Regions from separate parts of the Homo sapiens genome. Here all the other regions are linked to region 1. Evidence: promoter capture Hi-C in 16 types of primary human blood cells and fetal thymus (Javierre and others, 2016). All regions are on one chromosome and are shown on one strand. Each heading gives the region's core, a stretch centred on a gene start or on the middle of the fragment in contact. The rest is flanking DNA. Distances are from core to core; before and after follow the strand shown. Region 1 holds the start of KLHL8 (kelch like family member 8). Region 2 holds the start of PTPN13 (protein tyrosine phosphatase non-receptor type 13). Region 3 holds the start of MAPK10 (mitogen-activated protein kinase 10).

What was found. The method cuts DNA at HindIII sites, captures the fragments that hold promoters and counts their contacts. A CHiCAGO score of 5 or more calls a contact.
Region 2: a contact is called between the fragment with the promoter of PTPN13 here and the fragment with the promoter of KLHL8 in region 1, in 1 of 17 cell types (erythroblasts). The highest score is 6.0, in erythroblasts.
Region 3: a fragment that was not itself captured here is called in contact with the fragment with the promoter of KLHL8 in region 1 in 1 of 17 cell types (monocytes); the score reaches 6.2 in monocytes.

The regions. Positions count from the first base shown.
Region 1 is chr4:87,218,793-87,222,004 of GRCh38, reverse strand. KLHL8 (kelch like family member 8) reads left to right here and starts at 1,387. Exons shown (of 10, transcript NM_020803.5): 1 at 1,387-1,587. RefSeq lists silencers at 1,168-1,657, 1,998-2,267 and an enhancer at 1,773-2,385. The HindIII fragment of the contact is 8,812 bases long and covers 1-3,212 here.
Region 2 is chr4:86,592,935-86,596,213 of GRCh38, reverse strand. It overlaps PTPN13 (protein tyrosine phosphatase non-receptor type 13), which reads right to left and starts at 1,899. Exons shown (of 48, transcript NM_080683.3): 1 at 1,425-1,899. It also overlaps a transcript of MAPK10 not described here. RefSeq lists an enhancer at 1,662-2,248. The HindIII fragment of the contact is 4,151 bases long and covers 334-3,279 here.
Region 3 is chr4:86,357,872-86,360,968 of GRCh38, reverse strand. MAPK10 (mitogen-activated protein kinase 10) reads left to right here and starts at 916. Exons shown (of 14, transcript NM_138982.4): 1 at 916-1,311. The HindIII fragment of the contact is 2,874 bases long and covers 1-2,740 here.

The DNA.
Region 1 (3,212 bases), core at 138-2,637:
TTCCTCAGTTCAGCGCGGCAAAGCACCATATTTTGGGGTATCGATTTCTGAGTCCCAACAATTTTTACATCACGTTCCAGACACATTTTATGACTTTTCTTCACTGCATACTTCTTTAAAACTCATCTTACTCTATTTTTCTAAAGGTATTTGCATTAAATGTGCAAAATACTAATGCTCTAAAGAGGAATATTTTGAAATATTAAGAATTATTTATATTTCAATGTAAAAAATGTGATTTTTTTTCTAGAAATAAAATTTCAAATTCAAATAGTTGCTTTGGGGTTTTTATAGAAGATGCATATATATATACAGATATATATATGTTCATTTCTATTAAAATCAATGTGCTAATGTTCATATGTGTTAATATTAATAAAGGTCCTAGGATTAAATTTATTCTGAAATAGACTCCTAGGATTGTGAAAGTTTGAGGTTAGTCTGGCAAAAGACACATTTAGGGGAATATCTTTCTTTAAAAAAAATTTTGTTTTTTTGCTGTCTCTTGATCTCCCGCCTCACACATTCCACTTTATTGACATTATAGAAAAATTAATTCATTTCAACAGCACTTTTACTTGCATTGCTTTTTTTTTTTTTTTTTTTTTTTTTAGACGGAGTCTTGCTCTGTCGCCAGGCTGGAGTGCAATGGCACAATCTCAGCTCACTGCAACCTCCGACTCCCGGGTTCAAGCAATTCTCCTGCCTCAGCCTTGCGAATAGCTGGGATTGGTGGCACGCACAACCACGCCCAGCTAATTTTTGTATTTTTAGTACAGACGGAGTTTCACCATGTTGGCCAGGATGGTCTCGACTCCTGACCTCGTGATGCGCCCGCCTCAGCCTCCCAAAGTGCTGGGATTACAGGCGTGAGCCACCGCGCATGGCCACTTGCACTGCTTTTTAGCAGCGAGCTCTCAGGTCAATCAACTGCTTCCTTAGGTTTACAAACTGTGGGTGTGTATTTATAAACACAGTTGTTTTGTATATCCTTTGTAGAGCACGTGGTGAAAGTGACACAGGAATAAATGCAAACCTTTTTTTCCCCTTCTTTTTTCAAAGACATAAATCCCAGGAACACTCACAACCGCAGAAGGGGATTTGATGGACATACAAAGAAACTAAATTTTGTACCGCCGCAGAAGTGAAGCATGGATAAGCTCAAAGGTATTTAGGCAGTGTTTTATTTCAAGATTTGTTATGGGGACCTCCGCCACGCCCTGGTCCGCCTTCACCAGGCCGGGCAACACTGCCCAGTCCCTGAGACCCGGCCGCCCACTAGGGAGCCGCGGGGGCGAGGCCGTGGGGGTGGCCTCGGGGAGGAGGTCCCGAGAACCACACTTCCCAGAGTGCCGTGCGCAGCCCCGCCCAGCCCGCCCCGCCCCCAGAGGCCGCGGCTCGCGGGGGCTGAGGCGAGAGGACGCCAAGCGCCCGCCGGGGCTCCGCGGGGCCGCGCAGGAGAGCGCGCGTCCGCCGGGTGCTCGCGCGGGGTTGGTGAGGTTCCGCTGAGGGCGGCCGGGGCTCTGGGAGCGTGGTAACGTGGCTGCAACCTTAGCGACATCAGGAAGAACAGGGTCGAGGATCGAGGTAACGGGACGCTCGTCTCCCCTCAGTCCCCTCGTCTCCCCTCAGTCCCCTCTTCCTTTGTGCGGTGCCGTCCGCTCGCGCCGAGCCCTCCCTCACCCCAGCCCCCAAGTCGCAACACCGTCCCGTCTTGGGTCTCCGGTGTGCGGAGGAAATTCGAGCCCTCGTGCACCAACCGAAACTCCACAGCTGAGAGGGCTTGGGGCCCGGACAGCAGGAGATCCAGCCCCTGAGCAACCTTCCACGGCTTTTGTCGCCCCCATTGGCGGGAGGAGCAGGGTTATGCTCCCGGCTCCCGTAGGGGAGCTCCAGCCTCTGGCTCTGTCAGCCTCCCCGGCAGCTCCTTGACTCCTTCCTCCCAGTCTTTCGAAGAGGGGCCCAGGCAGGTGCTTCGCGGGGTCCAGGAAGAGGGCAGGCGCGGTGCGGCTGGCGCGGGTTCGGGGCCCCGGGAGGGCGGCCGGACGCCCCCTGGAGCCGCGGCCTGCGGGGGCGGGGCGAGTGGGCCACCTCCGGGCCACGCCGCGCGGGGACGAGGCGAGGAAGGCACTGCCTGTCCCCACTCGGGGGGCTTGCTGGCCGCCCTGGAGGTGCCTTCCCGGGAGCGGCGGTGTAGACCTTGTGGAGAGTGCCTCCTGATGTGGAACCAGGAACCGCAGCCTCTTTCTAGACGCTCAGCCGCCCGGTGGAGTTGTTACCGCCACGATGACAGCTCTTTACGCCTTCCACTCCGTGCTGGGTTCAGTTGGCTTGCTGTTTTCTTCAGAGAGAGCGATTTGGCTACATAGCTTGAATTTTCTACGTGTCTCGTGCTTTACTGGACTTGCACTGTTTTTCCCTCTTGGCAGTGTTTAATCGGGTGACTTTTCATAGAAAACGTTCAGTATTTTCATCTGTGTTAATGGCATAACTTTCTTCTTGACTCTGCCCTAAGCTAATGTTACCAGTTTAGAGGGATACTTTGGGAAAAGGTCCTTAGAACCTGGGTTGACATAAGTATTTTATCTGCTGGTTGCACGTTTTTTCCTTTGCATTGTTTTTCTCCTATACAAGATGGTAATTGTTGGACTCTTGGTGTTCTTTATTCTCTCTCTAGAAGGAAATCCTCTTCGCGCATCTTTCTCGTGTTCTGGCCCTGCGGTACTCTTGGGTACGCAGAGGACTGCTGCTAACAGTGCTGGCGCCTGGAACGCTGCTTGGAGATGGCGGTGGCATTAAGCTGCTGCTTTTCCTCAGACTTCCTCCTGGCACCCTTCTTAATTTGTCAAACTGACCCAGTTCAAACTTCAAACTTTTAGTCACTTTATTTATTTCGTCACTTTTTAAAAAAATTGCTTTCAAGATACCAAAATTGCGTAAGCCTAAATATAAAAAGAGGTGTCTCAGGGGCCGGGTGCAGTGGCTCACGCCTGTAATCCCAGCACTTTGGGAGATTGAGGCGGGGGGATCACTTGAGGTCAGGATTTTCGAGACCAGTCTGGCCAACATGGTGAAACCCCATCTCTACTAAAAATAACAAAAATTAGCTGAGCGTGGTGGCACATGCCTGTAGTCTCAGCTACTCGAGAGGCTAAGACAGGAGAATGGCTTGAACCCGGGAGGCGGAGGTTGCAGTGAACCGAGATCATGCC
Region 2 (3,279 bases), core at 650-3,149, 630 kb after region 1:
TAACAACTAACCTCAAATATTTTTCTGTTTTTAGTTCTAATTTCCATCCTATCCTCTCCCCACACATACTCCCACAAAGCCTCTAGAACATCAAGTAGAACACAATGTTATGAACAAAGTATAATAAACAAGATTGGACGTCAGTCAGTGCGCCTCTGTATAAATTTACTAAATCAATATATGTATGAATTTACTAACAAATGCTCCTAGTGATATTAAAACGAGAAATAATTTGTATATTGGCACCACTACAAGCAGCCAATGAGCATGAAGCAAGTTTTCACCTGGACCCTGCCAACACAGTCATGAAGACTTTAGGAAAATACCTAAGCTTGTTTCATAATACATGCACTTTTACTCCCCCCCCCATCCTTTAGTAAACTTTCTAGATATAAATTTTAAAATCTTAAAATTTATAATTAGTTACCAGCGCCCTTCATCCCACAGATCAGGTGTCCTACATTTTGTTCAGGTCCTGCCTTGAAAACAAACCCGATTGCCCCATTTTCTGCGAGGGAGCTCAGCTCCAGGCAGCTCCCTATGAAGTCACCGCGTTTGTTGTTTCAAAGATGCAATTAAATGAAAATGACACAAGGCTGTCGAACAGATTAGTTGGAAGTGTGCGGTGGTGTCGATCATATACGTGTATGGCCAATGAAAACTGTATTGCTGTAAATCTCTTAGTGATATTTCTCCCCATCCTCCTCTCTCCATTATATTCACAACAGAAGGAAATTAAACTTTGTAAGAATTTTCTTGACTTTGGTTTAACTTTAGCTTCCCAGCTGTCTGCTCTTACAGTATCACGTAATGAGCAAAGCGGTGGGGCTAGGGGGCCGGAGGGTAGAGTGTTAACTTTAGCAAGCAGAAGAAAAGCAATAAAAGACCTTGCATCAGACAGTGTCTCTCCCTCTGCCCCCTCTTCCTCTGCTTCCCCGCCATCCCACCCCCTTCTCGAGCCCTTACACACACATTCTTCTGGGCGGCCTCTAACCACACCATCTCCACAATCATTTGCAGAAATTAGAAACAGACTCCGGGAGCCCTTCCCTTAAGCACGCACAGAGCGGAGCTGTGCAAGCACGACGGGGCAATGTCACTCCCTATTACCCCACAATCTCTTACTCCCCCTGTGGGTTTCATTCCCGAGAATCCGGCTTTCTTCCGCAGAGGAGATGGATCTACCTAATTAGCAATGGAGTTTCATCTCATTCTTCCCCACTCCAGTCACCCCACCCCCACTCTAACGTACAAAAACACCCACCACCAAAACCAAAGAAAAGTTCCTTCTACCAGGGCAACCGAGGAGTTGGGTTTAGGGACTGGAGCGAAAGCAGAGAGAGGAGGAAGAGAACGAGCGCAATGTACTTTGTTTTGCACTTCTGCACATGCAGCGCAGAGCCCAGGGCGGCTCTCGTCCTTACCGGCTGGTCCCGAGACCGGGTCCTGCTACTGGAGCGCCGGGCGAGGGCTGCAGGGACGCGGCGTCGGGGCGGGCCGCCGGCAGCCGCCGCGGGCGCCGAGAGCCACCACCACTTCTCCCACAAGCGGCTGCGGGCGTGGGCTGAAGGAGCTGTAGAAGGAGCCTGGGGAGGGGGAGAAGAGGAGCAGCATCTCCTCCTCCTCCTCCTCGCCTCGGAAACGCTCCCCAGCGGCGATCCCGGCCGACTGCCTGACCCCCGAGCGCTCAACGCACCCCCGCCGCCCTACTGTGCTCGACGCCTCTCCAAGAGCTTCGCCAAAACCTTCTGGCGCGGGCGGCTCAACTCCTGTAGGCGACTCTGACCGCTGCCGAGGCGGACCGGGGAGCTACGGAGCACGGCTCGCCAGCACGACGGTCTCCAGGGGCCGTGAGCATGGTGTGTCACCCTCGCCTCAGCGTGGCCGCTGGAGCTACTCGCACCACTGGGGCTCCACCTCGGGCAGCCGCGCCGGCTCCGCCCCCCCGGTCCTGTCACTCAACCATTCCCCGGCACTGGGAGGACCGCAGATCTCCCACCCCGAGCTCCCCTCGACCTCATTGGCCCGCCTGGCATCCAGCTCCACCTCCTCCCTAGGGACGAGGTCGCCAGGGAGACCAGCGCCCCGGTTGCCATGACAACCAGTGCCTTGGGCCTGGCTTTTCGCGTTCTTCGGACTAGCCAGAGGCTCAGGTTGGTGACCGAGCGGCAGAGTTCCTAGCGCCTGCAGTGTGGTGAACTCCAACTTTTAGGCCAAGTTGAAAATGCAGCCGACGACCCCCACACTTCTAACTTCAGAATCAAAACTATGACCCTAGGGAGTGAGGAGGAGAGTGAAAAATGCGTAAGTGCTGGCTCCTCCCTTACTCTTCGCTGCCTCTCAGCCTTGTTTCTATATTCTCACGGGGCGCTTTGGTCTTTGAAAGGAAGAGGAGAATGGGGGAGAGGAAGAGCATGGCTTTGCCAGCTCCTTGCAGCAATATAGCAACTTAGAAATGGCGGGGTCAACGAAAAAAGCCCGGTGAGTTTTCCCACGGTTGTAAAGCTATCTTCAAAAGTGTGGTGACAGCACAACGCCAAATGCCCTAGGGAAAACTGAAATTCTCATATTTTTGAAAAAAGTTTGTAAATACTTGCCTTGTTATTTTATCTATGAGACTAAAATAATCCCGAAGTTTGAAAATTTAAGGAAAAGGTTTAACATAGTCGATAACCTCCCACTTTTCTATATACACTGAAATTTGGCCAAGGTATATCCAGACAGCTGTACCCCTCCTTGCTGCAAGCCGAAATATTTGAGTTTCAATAGTTAAACAAGAGAGTCTTGCTGAATTCATGAACAAATAATATCCTGTGATTTGAGTTTTGAAAGTTTTGGGTTATTCTCAGAGGTATAAGGTAAACTGGTCCACTCTGGAAAGGGTACCTGAAGATAAATTTAGTCTGAGACCCTTAATGTTGAGCCCTAGGTAAATCTGAATTTCATGGCTGGCTCCAAAGTGGAGAGATCTGAGGCTTATTTGGCTTCCCCAAAAAAAGTCAAAGCAGCAATCCTAGGTTCCCTAGCCCCTGAGGCTGCCATACATGTATGATGAATGAGGGAATTAATAGTAATGATTTATCTTTGGCGAGCACTTGAGTTTTCATTATATCATTTACTAAATGAATAACTATGATAGATATCTTCAGTCAAATATGCCTTACAAGTATGCATTGAATGTGATTACTCATAGGGCTAAACACAACGGAAAATACACAGCAGGATTTTAAGCTAAGTCCCCGCTCCCAAGGAGCTAACCTGGAGCCTAAGAAAGAAAAC
Region 3 (3,097 bases), core at 54-2,553, 860 kb after region 1:
TTTGAGAAGTCCAAAGGCTGGAGTTGGTTTAAGCGAAATTTGTATTGAAAATTTTTCTTACATAAAAAAGGTAAAACAAATTTGGTAAACCTAATTTTTTTTTATAGTGCAAGTAGTCAACTGTTGTCATTCTAAGAAACTATTATTTATGGATAGTAAAACTGTTTGGAGACTTTAAAAATACCCTATAACAGTTAAAGGCAGAGCAAATTACTGAAATAAAATTGCGATATTTGCCCCAAATAGTAACAGTACAATTTTCATCAGTTCTCTAGAAAATTATCTGCAATTAAAAAAAAAAGAATTCTGATGTGTTAACTCAAATTAATCAGTATTTTCTTTGTACACTCAGATTGCAACCTAAGTATTAGTCTGTTGAATTTGGTTTAGTGGATATTTATTCAGGATTTTTACAAAAACAAGGAAACAGAGAAGAGGAATAGTGCTGTGCAGATGACCTCGGGGTTCAGGCGACACTCAAATGCCTGCTTCTCCTCTGAGGTTATTACCATCTCTTACTTGTTTGACGTTTAGAGATACTACAAGAGATAGTTGAAAAGCAGAGGTTGCATTTCCAGTGGTGTTTTGCTCTGCTGGTATTTGCTCCTCCGTGCTGCTGTGCAAAGGGCCAGAACTGCATCGAATGGATCTTTTCTTCAGGTTGTGCAGGCTGGCTGCCTTGATGTCGTAGTTGCTGATGTTGGCTGCCGACGAACCTTATTCCTTTACATTTGCCTGGTCCTCATTTCACCGGAAAACACAGTAGCTGTAGCTGCACATAGACGCTTCCTCTTTCTGTTTCCCCCTCATCCCCCTCCCTAGACCTCTCTGGGCTTTGACGTCATGTGTGCTCCTTTCGGTTGCCATAGCAACCCCATTCCCCAAGCCCTCTGTCCGTCTCCTCTGGTAGGTTCCACAATGGTACAGGCAGCATCACGCTGCACAATGGTTTCCAGGCAGTGAAAGAGGGTGATTCAGCAAGCCACTCTTCTTCTATTTTCTTTAACCTCCCCTTCACTTTTTATTTTTATGGGGGTGGGTGGTGCTTGCTATATGCTTACCTTTTTCTTTTCTTTTTTCATTTTTACAAATTTCCTTTTTTGTCCTCACCCCTCAATTCCTAGGGGCTTGAGTGAGTTTAAGATTGGGTTTTCTTGGAAATCACCTGTCCATCGTTAATTTTAAACAATCTCCATATCTCCAAAGAATCTCTTCCATGTTAGTCTGGAATGTGGTTAATGAAAAACAAGTAGGGAGGATTTCTGGGGCAAACACTGCCGGATCAGGATCGTAGTTCTCAGGCACGGAATGGTAGGTGGCTCTTTGCTCGTTCTGGGTTCTAACCTGTTTTTGGAGGGTGGGGTGATGTCTATTGATTGCTCCTGGTGGGGCGGGAGAGGGAGTATGGAAGAGACGAGAGAGGTGGGGTGGAAAGCAGGTTAATCAAGTGAACTAGCTTTGAAGCAAGAAGCTACCAGTTTTTCCCTCTGTGCAGAACATCTCTTTCCAGACTTGGGCGTGTTGAAACCTTTCCATTTGGAGTGAGGGGTAGCAGAGGGAGGGAGGGAGCATTCTTATTGTGACCAGGGGTTTTTAGACCAATGCAGGGCTACAGAAGGGAAGGGAGAGAGAGAGAAACACACACACACACACACACACACACACACACACACACACACAGAGAGAGAGAGAGAGAGAGAGAGAGGAAAAAAAAAACACCAAACAGCTGTGCTTGTTAGAAGTGCTGACCTTAGTTCCATATCTGAAAAATGTGATGGGTTCCATAAAACATTAAAAATAATGTCTTTTAGTATGTATTTATGTTTACTTTTGTGAGAAGTATAATTTAAATATTTTAAGATGTATTTTACTAAGGAACAGTATTTATATATATATTAGATATAAAACTATTGGCGTTACTCTTGCAGAGCAACTCTAGGCTAAATCTGAGCCGGGGAGAGGAACACAGAACAGGGGTCAGGTTAGAGATAAGAGGAAACATTGGCACTGCAGTCAAATAGGTAAGGGGTCCCTTTAAGAAAGTGATCTCCTAGTCACAGCAGTCAGCTTTCTTTTTTTCATGGCAAGATTCCCAGGTATTCTGTGCTGGGATACTGTGTCCCCTGCAAATGTCAGAGCTCTTTTGAAAAAAAAATCAGAAATAAGTATGGCAGTATATTTGTTAGAATCTATGTATTTGTGCCTTCAACAAAATAAATGTAATTTACTGGAAAATCTGTAAGTAAATCAGGCTATAGATATTACAAGAAAACTATCTATCCATATATTTTTCTCACCCTCCCCAAACATTTAAATCTAGAGACCTAGTCTCTGCTTTTACCCCCTTAAACAGATAACTTCCCAGGGTACTGCAATTTAGCCACAGAAAAAGAATGGCTTATGCCACAGCAGTAGGCTCTGAAGCAATCACAAGGTTGTTTACATGGGCTGCCTTTGGTGCAGAGCCTGACAGTGTCTGTACAGCAGCCCTGCCTGCTTCTGGCCATGTTGATGATAACTTTTATGAACAAACTGCAAGGAAGCAGGCTAAGTCATATGGGATAGACTACAGTTCAGGTGGAAGGAAAACGAGTGTAAGTGCACCAGGCATTGCCAGCACAACATCCAATATCTCCTTCTATCCCTCATCGGCTAGTTGTCGGACCCTGGAAGATAACACAGAATGCTTATCAACATATTTAAAATAGTTGCAGTAAGGACCATTTCTCTCAGAGAAGCTTCTGTGAATTTTCTACTTTAGGTGAGCATATATGTTACAAATATATAACAAATAAATATATAAGTATATCACAAGCTTCTGACTCCACTTCAGAACCATTAGATTTTAGGGGCTGGATGCTTTGGATGTAGCGGTTTGGCTGCCTCTGGTATGTATTTCCTTCTCTACCTTGATCACACTCTTAAAATTGACATAAAGTATTGGATTAGCTTATTTTCTTATGTGGAGCAAACTGGGTTTTCTCTCCCCTACAATGGGACTAGAAAATCAGATGACAAAGGTGGTGTGACCTTAAATATTAGAGAGTCTTCATGCTTCCTCATTTGCCTGTCATTCCTCTGCTGTTGCAAAGTGTCT